Regions from separate parts of the Homo sapiens genome. Here region 2 is linked to region 1. Evidence: promoter capture Hi-C in 16 types of primary human blood cells and fetal thymus (Javierre and others, 2016). All regions are on one chromosome and are shown on one strand. Each heading gives the region's core, a stretch centred on a gene start or on the middle of the fragment in contact. The rest is flanking DNA. Distances are from core to core; before and after follow the strand shown. Region 1 holds the start of ADCY9 (adenylate cyclase 9). Region 2 overlaps CREBBP (CREB binding lysine acetyltransferase).

Region 1 (5,948 bases), core at 2,085-4,584:
ATACTATGATAATAAAATATCCTTAAACAAATGATGGCTGAAAGCTGAAAATGCAAACTTTTTTTAAAAAAAAAAAAAGACCTAGATAAAAGACAGTGTGTACTCAGAGGTAAGTAACTCCGTCTAATTCTCCAGAGACCTGCAGGACTGCGCCGACTTCCTATCCCTATTTTGAGGATAAGCAAAGTGAGGCCTAGAGAGGAGAAAGATTTTATTCTCCACGTTTTCGCAAAAAGGGCAGAGAGAAACATTTGGATGGGACTTCAGGGTGACCAAATGAATGCAAAGGCAATTTCCTTAAGTGCTAAACAGTGCTGAATGCTGAAGGGCTCCATACCCTTACATTCACCGGACGTGCCCCCACATTTCAGCCAACCAGTGGTTATGCACGTTCAAAGTTCTCCTTCCTTCTAAAGGTCGCGTCTAGGTCATCTCTGCACAGCGTCCCTTTCTGCAGTGTGAACAGATCTGTGATATTTGACCCGCTGAAAGAAAAGTCACACTGACCCTGAGATCCCCCCATGGTAAGGCATTCTGAGATACCTGAGCTGTCTGCAGACACTGAGGCTGGAAGCTTTTTTTTTTAATTTAATACAATCAGGATCAGGGAGGGGGGATGCCGAGGTAAAGCAGTGCACATACCTTTCAACTGGTCAGCAACCACGCTCTGGCCCAGCCGTTCAATAACTTTCCCATCTTCCATTTCGTACCGGTCATCTAAGTATTTTGCGGTGGCCTCAGAAATGTGAACTTTGCCGGCCACTCCCAGCTGCTCCATGAGATTGGCCAGGTTCACATCGTTGGACCACACGTCAAATTTAAACCTCCTCATGCCCAGGATGCCGCAAAGGACGGTGCCCGTGTGCACCCCGACTCTCATGTTCACCATCTCCTTCTTCTCCTGGCAGAACTGCTCGATGGCCTTGATCATGCCCAGGCCCATCTCGATGCAGCAGTAGGCATGGTCGGCCCGGGGCTCGGGACAGCCCGCCACGCAGTAGTAACAGTCTCCCAGGGTGCTGATTTTCTCACACTTGGTCTCCTCACACAGGCGGTCGAAGCGACCGAACAGATCGTTCAGGAGACCCACCAGGGCGTGGGCAGACTTGTTGGCACTCATCTTGGTGAAGCCCACGATATCTGCAAATAAAATACTGACTTCTTCGATCTGCTGCATCTTAAAAGGGCGGAAGGCTATAGGAGCTTTTTGGATGGAAGACTTTTTCTTCCTGTTCTTGGGGCTCGAGGTGGCATGCCTCTTGACAGAATTCTCACTCTCCTCATCTCCCTGCTTCATTAAGTCATCGGCTATGATTCTTGGCATCACGGAATGAATCATCCTCTCTTTGAGGGCTTTTTCCACTTCCAGGTCCTTCCCGTGCATAATGGATTGCCCCACCTTGAGGAAGGTGCTCCTGGACCTCACCTGGGACATGACGAACAGGTGGACCCCGATGGCGTGGATGCAGCCGTGGAGCAGCCCCCTGCTCAGCAGCTCCCAGTGCAGGGCCCCGGCTCCGGGCGAGGGGAAGCAGGCTTCATCCCGGAAATGGTAGCCAAAGGTCTCGAAAAGGACAGAGTAGGCCACCCCCAGACACAAACTCAGGTACAAAGGTAAGTGCATGACGGTATAGAGCAAAAAGAGCACTTCGATGCACATGGAGAAGCTCCCCACTTGAGATAAGCAAGTATCTGTGGGCCGGGCTGTGGCCGTAAGGTTGGAGCTGTCGCCGCGTCCTGAGACAGGCGTCAAGACCTGGAACTGCGCAGCCAGGGTCAGGGCGAACACCAGCAGGGTGAGAGCCAGCGAGGTCCACGCGTAATGCCGGGCGTACAGCTTGGTGAAGGTAAACAGAAAGAAGCCCACACACACCAGGAGGAAGCACAGCGCGGGGGCGACCATGACGATCAGTCTGGATCTCATGTGGACCGCAAAATAGATGCTCCACAGAAGGCAGGCGAAGCCGATGTAGAAGAGCGCATACCGGAACCGGCGCTGGGTCTGCGGGAAGCAGCGCTCCAGGCAGGCCTCCTCCAGGTTCACCGAGTCGAACTTGGGGTCCCACCAGCGGCTGGAGGCCCTCTCGAACAGCTGGGGCAGCTTCTTCTGCCTGCGCAGCCGGCCTCCGCCGCCCACTCGCCGGGGGACGCCCCCGGAGTCCCCAGAGCTGCTGCAGCTAGAGGAGATGCTGTATTTGCAGTGCTTGGGGTGGCTGTTGGAGGACAGCTGCTTGGGGTTGATCTTGACGCGCACGCTGTTGCTGTCCCCGCTGGAGTCGCAGCTCACCTCGGTGCTGTGGTGATGCAGCAGCTGCTGGTGGGGTGGGGAAGCCATGTTGTCGAGTCCCGGGGCCTGCCCCGGCCGGGGTCACCAGTACCTGCCAGCAAAACGGGGAGAGTTAGCGGCGCTCCCACCTAGGCATGCACGCCTAGAGGCCCGGGACCTGCTCCTGTCCTAAGGGGCGGCTCCAGCACGCGACCTGGACAGGCACCATCTGTTCCTGTGGTTCCCGGCTCAGCGGTGCTCCCACCGCCCCCACCGCCCCCACCTTCGAGGCGCACGAGAACCGCTCGGGACGGACCTAGAACGCCCGGGGGTCCCCGCCGCGTGGCCGCCGTGGCTCCGGGACCGCTTTGCTCGCTCGCCTTCCGCGCCTCTCGCCCCGAGGGTGGCCTCCGCGCCGCGCGGCTTCTCCTCCTCGCGCGCTCGCCTCCTCCAGCTGCGGCTCCGGAGGGAAGTTCAGACCTTGAGCGCTCCCAGCCCCGCGAGCCGCCTGCGCACAAACAACTCCGCTGGCGGCGCGGAGCCCTCCATCCTGCAGGAGCCGCGCTCCGATGCGTCAAAGGCGGCGCGCGGCCGGCCCCGGGCCCGGACCCCGACCCGGAGCAGCGAGCTTCGGCGGGCGCCCCCGGCTCGCGCTCCCCGGCCGCCCCCCGCGCTCCGGGCCGGCCCTGCCCGCGGCGGCGGGCGCTGGGGGTGGGGGCGCCCCGGGCTGCGAGTGCGCGGAGCCCGTCGGCGCGGCCCGTCTAGTGGGGCCTGCTTCCCCCCGAGTGCGCCGCCGCTCCCGCCGCGGCCGCAGCTGTCCCGGGACCGAGCGCGTGGAACCACGGACGCGGGCCCCTCGCCGGGCGGCGGTGCAGACGCTGCCGCAGAGCCGGGCTCCCGCGACGCCGGCCGGGACGCCCGCCCGCCCGCGCCCACGCCGGGGGCCGCCTCCCCGAGCTAGAGATGCGGCCGCCGCCGCGCCCGCCGCCGTGTCCCCCGCGGCCGCTGCCTCATGTCGGAAGAGCTGCCGCCGCCACCATCTCCGGCCCCTGCCCCGCCCGCTGTCACTGACAGACGCGCGCCCGCGCCGCCCCTCGCCCAGCCGCAGCGCGCACGCGCGGCCCGCGCTCGCCGCCACCGCCTCCTGGCCCCGGACACGCGCACGGGCCGCGCGCCGCCCCGCCTTGGTGCGCGCGCTGGGCTGGGGCTGCGGGGCGGGGCGGGGCGGGGCGGGGCGCGCGCTCGGCTCCGCCCCCCGCCCCGGGCGGCGCCGCTTCTAGGCGGCGGGCTGTGGCCGCTGTCCGCGCTCCGGGCGCTGTGGGCCCGCCCTCCCTCGGCGTCCCAGAGGCCGCGCGCCGCCCGGGGTCCCGACCCTGCGGAGAGACCTGAAGGCGCCTGCCGTGGAAGAAGCCGCTGGCCGCAACGTTTGGGAAATCAAAATGTTGCCTTCCCACTCGGCACGCCTTTGGGATAAATCGAAGTTTCCAACCGTTGGATTTCCCTCCCGGGAGGCTCCCCTTGCTCTGTAAGCAATGAATGCGGGCCCCGGGGCACTCGGCCTGCCCTGGACCTGCTCACGGGGCGACCTTCACGGGCCTAGCCTCCAAAGCTGGGCCCACCGACGACCACGTTCCCCCGCCCCAGGGGTAGTTTACCTTGCTGTCCTTGAGCCCTTCTCCCCCTCCTCATGAACTACTGCTTTTCCTTTTACACAAATGAGACTTTCAAAGGAGTCCGCGTCCCATAATGGCAGTTGTGCATTGGCCTCCATAAACATTGCCACGTGTAAATAAAATCCTATTCTCTCTAGCATGCAGATCCCGACCCCTTCTCCCCACACTCCACAGTGCCTCCTGCCAGTCACGGGGCTCTCTTCCATCCCCTCCCTCGCCTCCCAGGCCCAGCGCCGGGGCCCACACCAGGTCTCACTGTTGAATTAGAAAATAAAAGTAAAATGTGATCTGTCCATGCAATGGAATATTATTCGGCTACAAAAAGGAATGGAGCACCGATGCATGCTGCAGTGTGGAGGAACCCGGGAAACGTTATGCTAGTGAAAGAAGCCAAACAAAAAAGGCCACATAGCGTATGATTCCATCCAGATGAAATGTCTCGAATTGGCAAATCCGTAGAGGCGACACAGATTGGAGGTTGCCAGGTGCTAGGGGAGGAAGATAAGCAGCTTGGGGTTTCGTTTTAGGATGATGAAAAAGTCTAGAAATGATCCAACAGGATGAATCTACATACTGCCCTTGAATCATACACTTTAAAGTGGTTTAGGCCGGGAGCGGTGGCTCACGCCTGTAATCCCAGCACTTTGGGAGGCCGAGGTGGGCGGATCACCTGAGGTCGGGAGTTCGAGACCAGCCTGACCAACACGGAGAAACCCCATCTCTACTAAAAATACAAAAATTAGCCGGACGTGGTGGCACATGCCTGTAATCCCAGCTACTCGAGAGGCCGAGGCAGGAGAATTGCTTGAACCCGGGAGGCGGAGGTTGTGGTGAGCTGAGTTCGCACCATTACACTCCAGCCTGGGCAACAAGAGTGAAACTCCATCTCAAAAAATAATAATAAAATAAAATAAAGTGGTTTAAATGGTAAATGTTATGTTGAGTGTATTTTACCACAATAAAGGAGGAAAAAACTAAAAGCAACATATTGTGGTGGTATTCCTGCAGAAGTGTGTAATCTCAATCCAATCGCAAGAAAACACCAGACAAACCCAGATTGAGACCTGTTCTACAAAGTGATTAACCAGTACCCATCAAAAGTGTCCTTGGACACTTTGGGTCTTGAAAGACAAAGACTGAGAAACTGTCACAATCTAGGAATCGTCCCTAAGGGGATAGATACAACAACTAAATGGAACATGGGATGCTGGTTGGGAACATGGAACAGGAAAGGACAGTAGCAGGAGAGCGGGCAAAATTCACATAAGATCTGCAATTTCCTGGTTCTGATCCTCTTACTATGGTTAGGTAAGACGTTAACATTTTTAGGGGAAGCTGGGCCCTGTGCAGTGGCTCACACCTGTAATCCCAGCACTTTGGGAGGCTGAGGCAGACAGACCACCTGAGGTTAGGAGTTCAAGACCAGCCTGGCCAGCATGGTGAAACCCCCGTCTCTACTAAAAATACAGAAATTAGTTGGGCATGGTGGTGTGCGCCTGTAATCCCAGCTACTCAGGAGGCTGAGGCACAAGAATCACTTGAATCCAGGAGACGGAGTTTGCAGTGAACCGAGATCATGCCACTGCACTCCAGCCTGGGCAACAGAGCAGGACTCCATCTTGGGGGAAAAAAAATTAGGGGAAGCTGGATGTAGGATACAGGGAAACTCGCTAGTATTTCTGCAACTCTTCAAGTCTAAAACTATTTCAAAATAAGTTTATCTAAAAATTTAAAAAATAAACCTTTAATGAACATCAATTCTATGCCAGGCACTCTCACATACGAGGTTCAGAAACGCATGGTGTGTCACATGCATTCGCTTAGTAAATGGGATAACAATAGTGAACTAACATTGACCGAACACGTCATAAATGCCAGAAACTACTGGACATTTTCACCTGTGACACATTTGGTCATTGCCACAACCCTCTGAGGTAGATACTATTGTCCCTTGTTTAGAGAGGTGAAACCCAGGATTGAAGAGAAACGCACCCTAGGTCTCCCACTAA
Region 2 (5,948 bases), core at 2,721-5,220, 340 kb before region 1:
CTGCTTGTGAAAATTCATCGAGCTATACACTTGTAATGGGCACTCCTCAATAACGGTAAAACTACACACGTTTCTTATAGTCTGATTTATATAATTAAAACAACCATTGAAACTTATGGCTTAAACACACACATCTACAGCAGTCCCCTCATATCCACTCGGATACATTCCAAGACCCCCAGTCTTGGAACGCCTGAAACTGCGGATAGTACTGAACCCAATATTTACCAAGATTTTTGGATCTGACAACCAAGGTGGACACTCAGTGACTAAGAGGTGGGTAGTGTCTACAGTGTGGAAATGCTGGACAAATAAATGATTCACATCCCTGGGGGCACAGAGTGGGATGGTGACAGAATTCATCATGCAACTTGGAATGGCACTCAATTTAAAACTTTTTTTTTTTTTTTTTAAAAAAAAAAAGACAGAGTCTCGCTCTGTCACCCAGTCTGGAGTGCAATGGCATGATCTTGGCTCACTGCAACCTCCATCTCCCGGGTTCCAGTGATTCTCCTGCCTCAGCCTCCTCAGTAGCTGGGATTACAGGCGTGCAATACCATGCCTAGCTAATTAATTTAAAATTTATGAATTGTTTATTCCCAGAATTTCCCATTTAATATTTTTGGACCACAGTTGACCCCAGGTAACTGAAACCTCAGAAAGTGAAATGACAGATTGGGGGAGCTACTGTACATTGACCCAGCCTATAAGCTTCATGTTCTATAACATGTACCCAATGTTCTTTAACATTTTCTAAGCTTAGCTTAGAAAAAGGTATTTTTTTTTTAAGTTGCTTCTTCCCTGGGGACTATAAAATAAATAAATAAAAATAAGAATAAAAGTTATTGACCATAAATATATACATCCATAAGTACCCTTAACAATTAAAAATTTAAAAAAAAAATTCTCTCTGAAACACAAACACACACACACACACACACACACACACACACACACACGTTAGTTACTGAAAGAGAACTGTTTCAGTGCAGTGGTTCTATACTGGGGATACACTTCAGAATTATTTGTGAACATTTTAAAAATGATTCTGAATCACTGTTCTAGAGCAGGGGTTGGCAATCTCCCAGGGCAAACACACTGAGCTGCTTGTTTCTGTAAATAAAGCTTTATTGGCACACAGCCACCTCATTTATGTACCACAGCAGCTTCTGCACTACAAGAACAGAAGTGATGAAAACCAAGATTGAATGGCCTGCAAAGCTGAAAATATTTAGTATCTGGCCCTTTACACGAAGTTTGCTAATCCTTGTTCTAGAGAAATGAAATGTTATGGAAAGTTAAGAATAATCATTTAGTGAGGAAATCTAATATATAATAATGACTTATGCAGCATTATTTCACATTAAAAACTCAAAACAAGGCTGGGTACGGTAGCTTACTCCTGTAATCCCAGCACTTTGGGAGGCCGAGGTGGGTGGATCACCTGAGGTCAGGAGATCGAGATCAGCCTGGCCAACATGGTGAAATCCCGTCTCTACTAAAAATACAAAAAAAAAAAAAAAAAAAAAAATTAGCTGGGTGTGGTGGCGGGCATCTGTAACCCCAGGTACTTGGCAGGCTTAGGCAGGAGAATCGCTTGAACCCGGGAGGCGGAGGTTGCAGAGCCGAGATTGTACCACTGCACTCCAGTCTGGGCAACAAAACGAGACCCTGTCTTAAAACAGACAAACAAACAAAAAAAAACTTAAAACAAGAATTTTATCTTTTAGGGAGGATTTGGTGTGTTTTAAATACATGTATATTTTGTATACAGTAGCAATGATACGCACTACAACTAACAAAAGAGGAAAAAAGGAAGGAATAAATGGAAAATCAATTTCTTCAGCTCTAGATTGAGAAATTAAAAACATTTAACAAGAAGGGAACTATTGAAATGATTCTGTTAGCTTGATTTCACCTGGCAGTGGAGACAGGTCAAAAGAAACAAAAGCCAAATCATCAAGAGTGAATTCATGGGTCCTTCTCACTCGCTTTTTAAAATCCTAATGCCTCTCAGGGTCACGTTAAAGTTAGAATTTAAAATACACAAACAAAAAATAAGAAAACAAAAACTCAAAGATCAAAACACAAAAGCATACAAACCAAAAATTCTAAATCCATTCCCACTTTTGCATATAGTTAACCCAGAAAGGATAAGAGAAATTCCAAACGAGTTAAGGACTACAGGACAAAGGTGGAGAAAACAAAGAGAAGCTGATACAAAGACATGAAATGTGCATTCTGGAATTTTAATTTCCACGAAGGAAGACAGAAAAAAAAAACCAAAACTTAACACAAGAATTTTATTTCCTAGGGAGCCACGGTCCCAGTGGGGCACAGTACCTGTGACACGCCTGTTTGGGCTGGCGGCTGCCCCATGCCCACACTCATCGCCCCGCTGGATGACGGGAACTGGTTCTGTGGCAGAAACTGGCTCTGAGCGGGCGCCTGGGCCATCATGTTGTTGGTGTGTGCACCCATCATGTTCGGAGGCTGAGGCATTCGGGAAGGAGAAATGGCCATCTACGAGACAACAAGCACCACCAGAGCTGTAGTTCGGAAGCTGACGGCCAGAGTTTTCAAGGTGAGCCAGAATGATCCAAGGCTTCACAACCCCAGAGGATGGCAAGCACAGGGCTCACATCCTGCCCTTCCTCATGGGAAGAGACCACCACTTGCTAAGAACTCCCGCGCTCCTGGGCACCTTACACACTTTCTCAGGCAATCTCTCAAATGAGCCAGCTTCAAAATGTCCTCTGAATAGAAATCAATAGCAGGCTATAATTTAAAGTTTAAGACATGCCTATGAGTTCTCTAAAGTGTTTAGAAAGCAGCCTCGGAACAGCGAGCTCTCAGTCAACAGATGCTGACAATTCCCTGCTGGCCACATATCTGAGGCTGCCTTCTCCAGCCTTGGAACTCCCACATTCTCACAAAGCCACACATTCCTATGAATTTGTTATTCCAATAAAATAACTAACAGTCAAATAATTCTGTGTAGTAATAATTTTTTTAAAATGAGAGATGAAAGAAATAAAGCATAACCCAAATTCAAAGGAACAAGAACCACAGGATTCTCAAGTGACATGAATTCTGCTGCTTAGATAATGTTCCATGTGAGAGGGAGGGCTATCTGCAGCACAGCGAAAGAGAACACTTACCCCTGGCACTGAGCCCATGCTGTTCATCTGGACAGAGTGGTTCATTGGGGAGGCTGCACGAGGTCCCATGGGTGCTTGTGGCAACTGGACGTTCCCCAAGGACATGGGGTTAAATGAATTCATCCCTGTAAATGTACCCACAACGGTTCATTAGGAAAAGCACCCACAGGAAAACAGAATTACAACTTGCTAAATAAACTCTTAAGTAAAATAAGATGGAACGCACAGGCAACAGAAAACTGAAAAGAAATCACCCAATTAATCAATGAAGATGATGAAGGAACAGACTTCTCCATATCCAGAGAAAACGGCATCAATGTGGGGGTGGTGACGGTGGCATGGTGAGGGGTACCAGGGAAGGACGAGGACATGAAGGCATAAGGTTGGGTAAGACAGGAACAAGTGAGACATTAAACGAGGCTGTGGTAGAGCTGAGCCAGAGGGCACAGTACCAAAGTGTCATAGCAACAAAGAGGGTGAGGAGGTGCCCTGAAAGGACAGCACCCTCACAAGCTACAGAAGAGATGTTTCCAGAGACCAGGGCAAGCTTCTGTGCACACCCATACCTAATGCCTCTGGAGCAGCTGACGCCCATCATCCGAGGATTCCCAGCTCCTTGCTGGGTTTACATTCATTGTTAGAATCTGTGCTAAGTCTCCAAATGTTCTTTTAATTTTGCAAGCACCTTAAGCATTAAGAAGTGCCCAAGGGTCAGCCGTCCTCAACCTTAGCCTCCTGTAGTTTACAGGAACACCACATCACTGAAAGACACTTCACAGCCAGTAAGTGTCTCCAGACTGCGGTGTCTAGTTCCTTCCAATTTCCAATAATACTCTGTAAACTCTGAGTTCTAAAGAAGCACCAGTTCAAATTAGTCTTAGGACCAACACTAGAATCTGACAGAACCCTTTAGAGAATTTCTGGAAGGTGCTGCCTTAGCGCTGCTGTAGTCATGAGAAGGCTCAAAGGATGACTCACGGAGCACTACCTTCAATGGCTACCTAGAAATGGTACCCTCAAATAACGGAGTGCCGATGCAGACCAGGAAGACTTTCCAGGGAGTCTATAATGTAAGCTTCCCCACTCCTTGAGAATTTTTTTAAACAAAATGAAAAACAATTACTAAGGAACAGCACTTAAAGAAATCTGTATTTACCCAGATGTGCTGGTAGGGAGGTTGCTAAGTGCATAACTAGAAAACATCTATTCCAATATTCTGCTGGTAAACAGCAGGGGCATCATACCCCACACCAGCAGCATCTTCCTATCCAGGCTGAAGTCCTGGACCAATCCCCAACACAGCATCCAGCCACTTTCCCAAGGCTCAATTTCTCTGACTCCTTGATTTCTTTCTTTTTTTTTTTTGAGATGAGATTTCGCTCTTGTTGCCCAGGCTGGAGTGCAGTGGTGTGATCTCAACTCACTGCAGCCTCCGCCTCCTGGGTTCAAGCAATTCTCCTGCCTCAGCCTCCCGCGTAGCTGGGATTACAGGTGTGCACCACCATGCCTGGCTAAATTTTGTATTTTTAATAGAGACGGGGGTTTCACCATGTTGGCTAGGCTGGTCTCAAACTCCTGACCTCAAGTGATCCTCCTGCTTCGGCCTCCCAAAGTGCTGGGATTACAGGTGTGAGCCACTGTGCCCAGCCTGACTCCTTGATTTCTTTCAAAAATCAAAGCCTGAGCAAAGCCTCTTTCCTTAGAGTCTTCTGGATAATGTCACCACCTTGTTTCACAACCTGGAAAAATGTCCTCCTGCTTGGGTCTCAATGGTCAAGAGCTACAGGGTTTTCAAATGCTCCCTGCCCCAAAATAAAAATCACTGCTTCAACCAACCAAAAACCAGAGGCTCTCTACTTAAGAACCTTTCAAGGTTGTTGAGACAGCTGCTGACACCCCAACCTGGCACAGGACCTGTGTGTACACTCTCTCCAGAAGTTGACATCCAGCCAGCTGGGCTTAACCCCTAGGGCCAAGAGCAGCCCGTGCCGTCCCCATTTCAGCCTCTGCAAGTGCTCAGCAGTCTAGGACTGTCTTGCATGCTTCTCCTTCTCAGCATTCAGAAGCACTCCCTCCCCACATCTAGGGTGCTTCTTTCTCGGACTCTTCCTAAGAGTAACGTACCACACCCCCTTCACCATCCATTAAAAAAATAAAAAGCTGGCCGGGTGCAGTGGCTCATGCCTGTAATCCCAGCACTTTGGAAGGCCAAGGTGGGCAGATCACAAGTTCACGCGATTGAGACCATCCTGGCTAACATGGTGAAACCCCATCTCTACTAAAAAAAAAGATACAAAAAATTAGCTGGGCGTGGTGGCAGGTGCCTGTAGTCTCAGCTACTATGGAGGCTGAGGCAGGAGAATGGCATGAACCCGGGAGGCGGAGCTTGCAGTGAGCCCAGATCGTGCCACTGCACTCCAGCCTGGGCAACAAAGTAAGGCTCTGTCTCAAAAAAATAAAAGAAAAGAAAATAAAGTAAAATAAAAAGCTAAGGCCGGGTGCAGTGGCTCACTCCTGTAATCCCAGCACTTTGGGAGGCTGAGGTGGACGGATCACGGAGATCAAGACCATCCTGGCTAACACGGTGAAACCCCGTCTCTATTAAAAATACAAAAAATTAGCCACGCGTGGTGGTGGGCGCCTGTAGTCCCAGCTACTCAGGAGGCTGAGGCAGGAGAATGGTGTGAACCCAGGAGGCGGAGCTTGCAGTGAGCCAAGATGGAGCCACTGCACTCCAGCCTGGGCGACAGAGCGAGACTCCATCTCAAAAAAATAAAAATAAAATAA

Evidence for each region. The method cuts DNA at HindIII sites, captures the fragments that hold promoters and counts their contacts. A CHiCAGO score of 5 or more calls a contact.
Region 2: a fragment that was not itself captured here is called in contact with the fragment with the promoter of ADCY9 in region 1 in 1 of 17 cell types (megakaryocytes); the score reaches 5.0 in megakaryocytes.

Annotation. Positions count from the first base shown.
Region 1 is chr16:4,113,108-4,119,055 of GRCh38, forward strand. It overlaps ADCY9 (adenylate cyclase 9), which reads right to left and starts at 3,335. Exons shown (of 11, transcript NM_001116.4): 1 at 2,583-3,335; 2 at 643-2,378. The coding sequence starts at 2,335. RefSeq lists silencers at 269-479, 3,473-3,542. The HindIII fragment of the contact is 5,610 bases long and covers 573-5,948 here.
Region 2 is chr16:3,771,408-3,777,355 of GRCh38, forward strand. CREBBP (CREB binding lysine acetyltransferase) reads right to left here. Exons shown (of 31, transcript NM_004380.3): 12 at 3,162-3,286; 13 at 2,344-2,523. Among named protein-coding and RNA genes, the nearest start is that of TRAP1, 57 kb to the left of the region's middle. The HindIII fragment of the contact is 528 bases long and covers 3,707-4,234 here.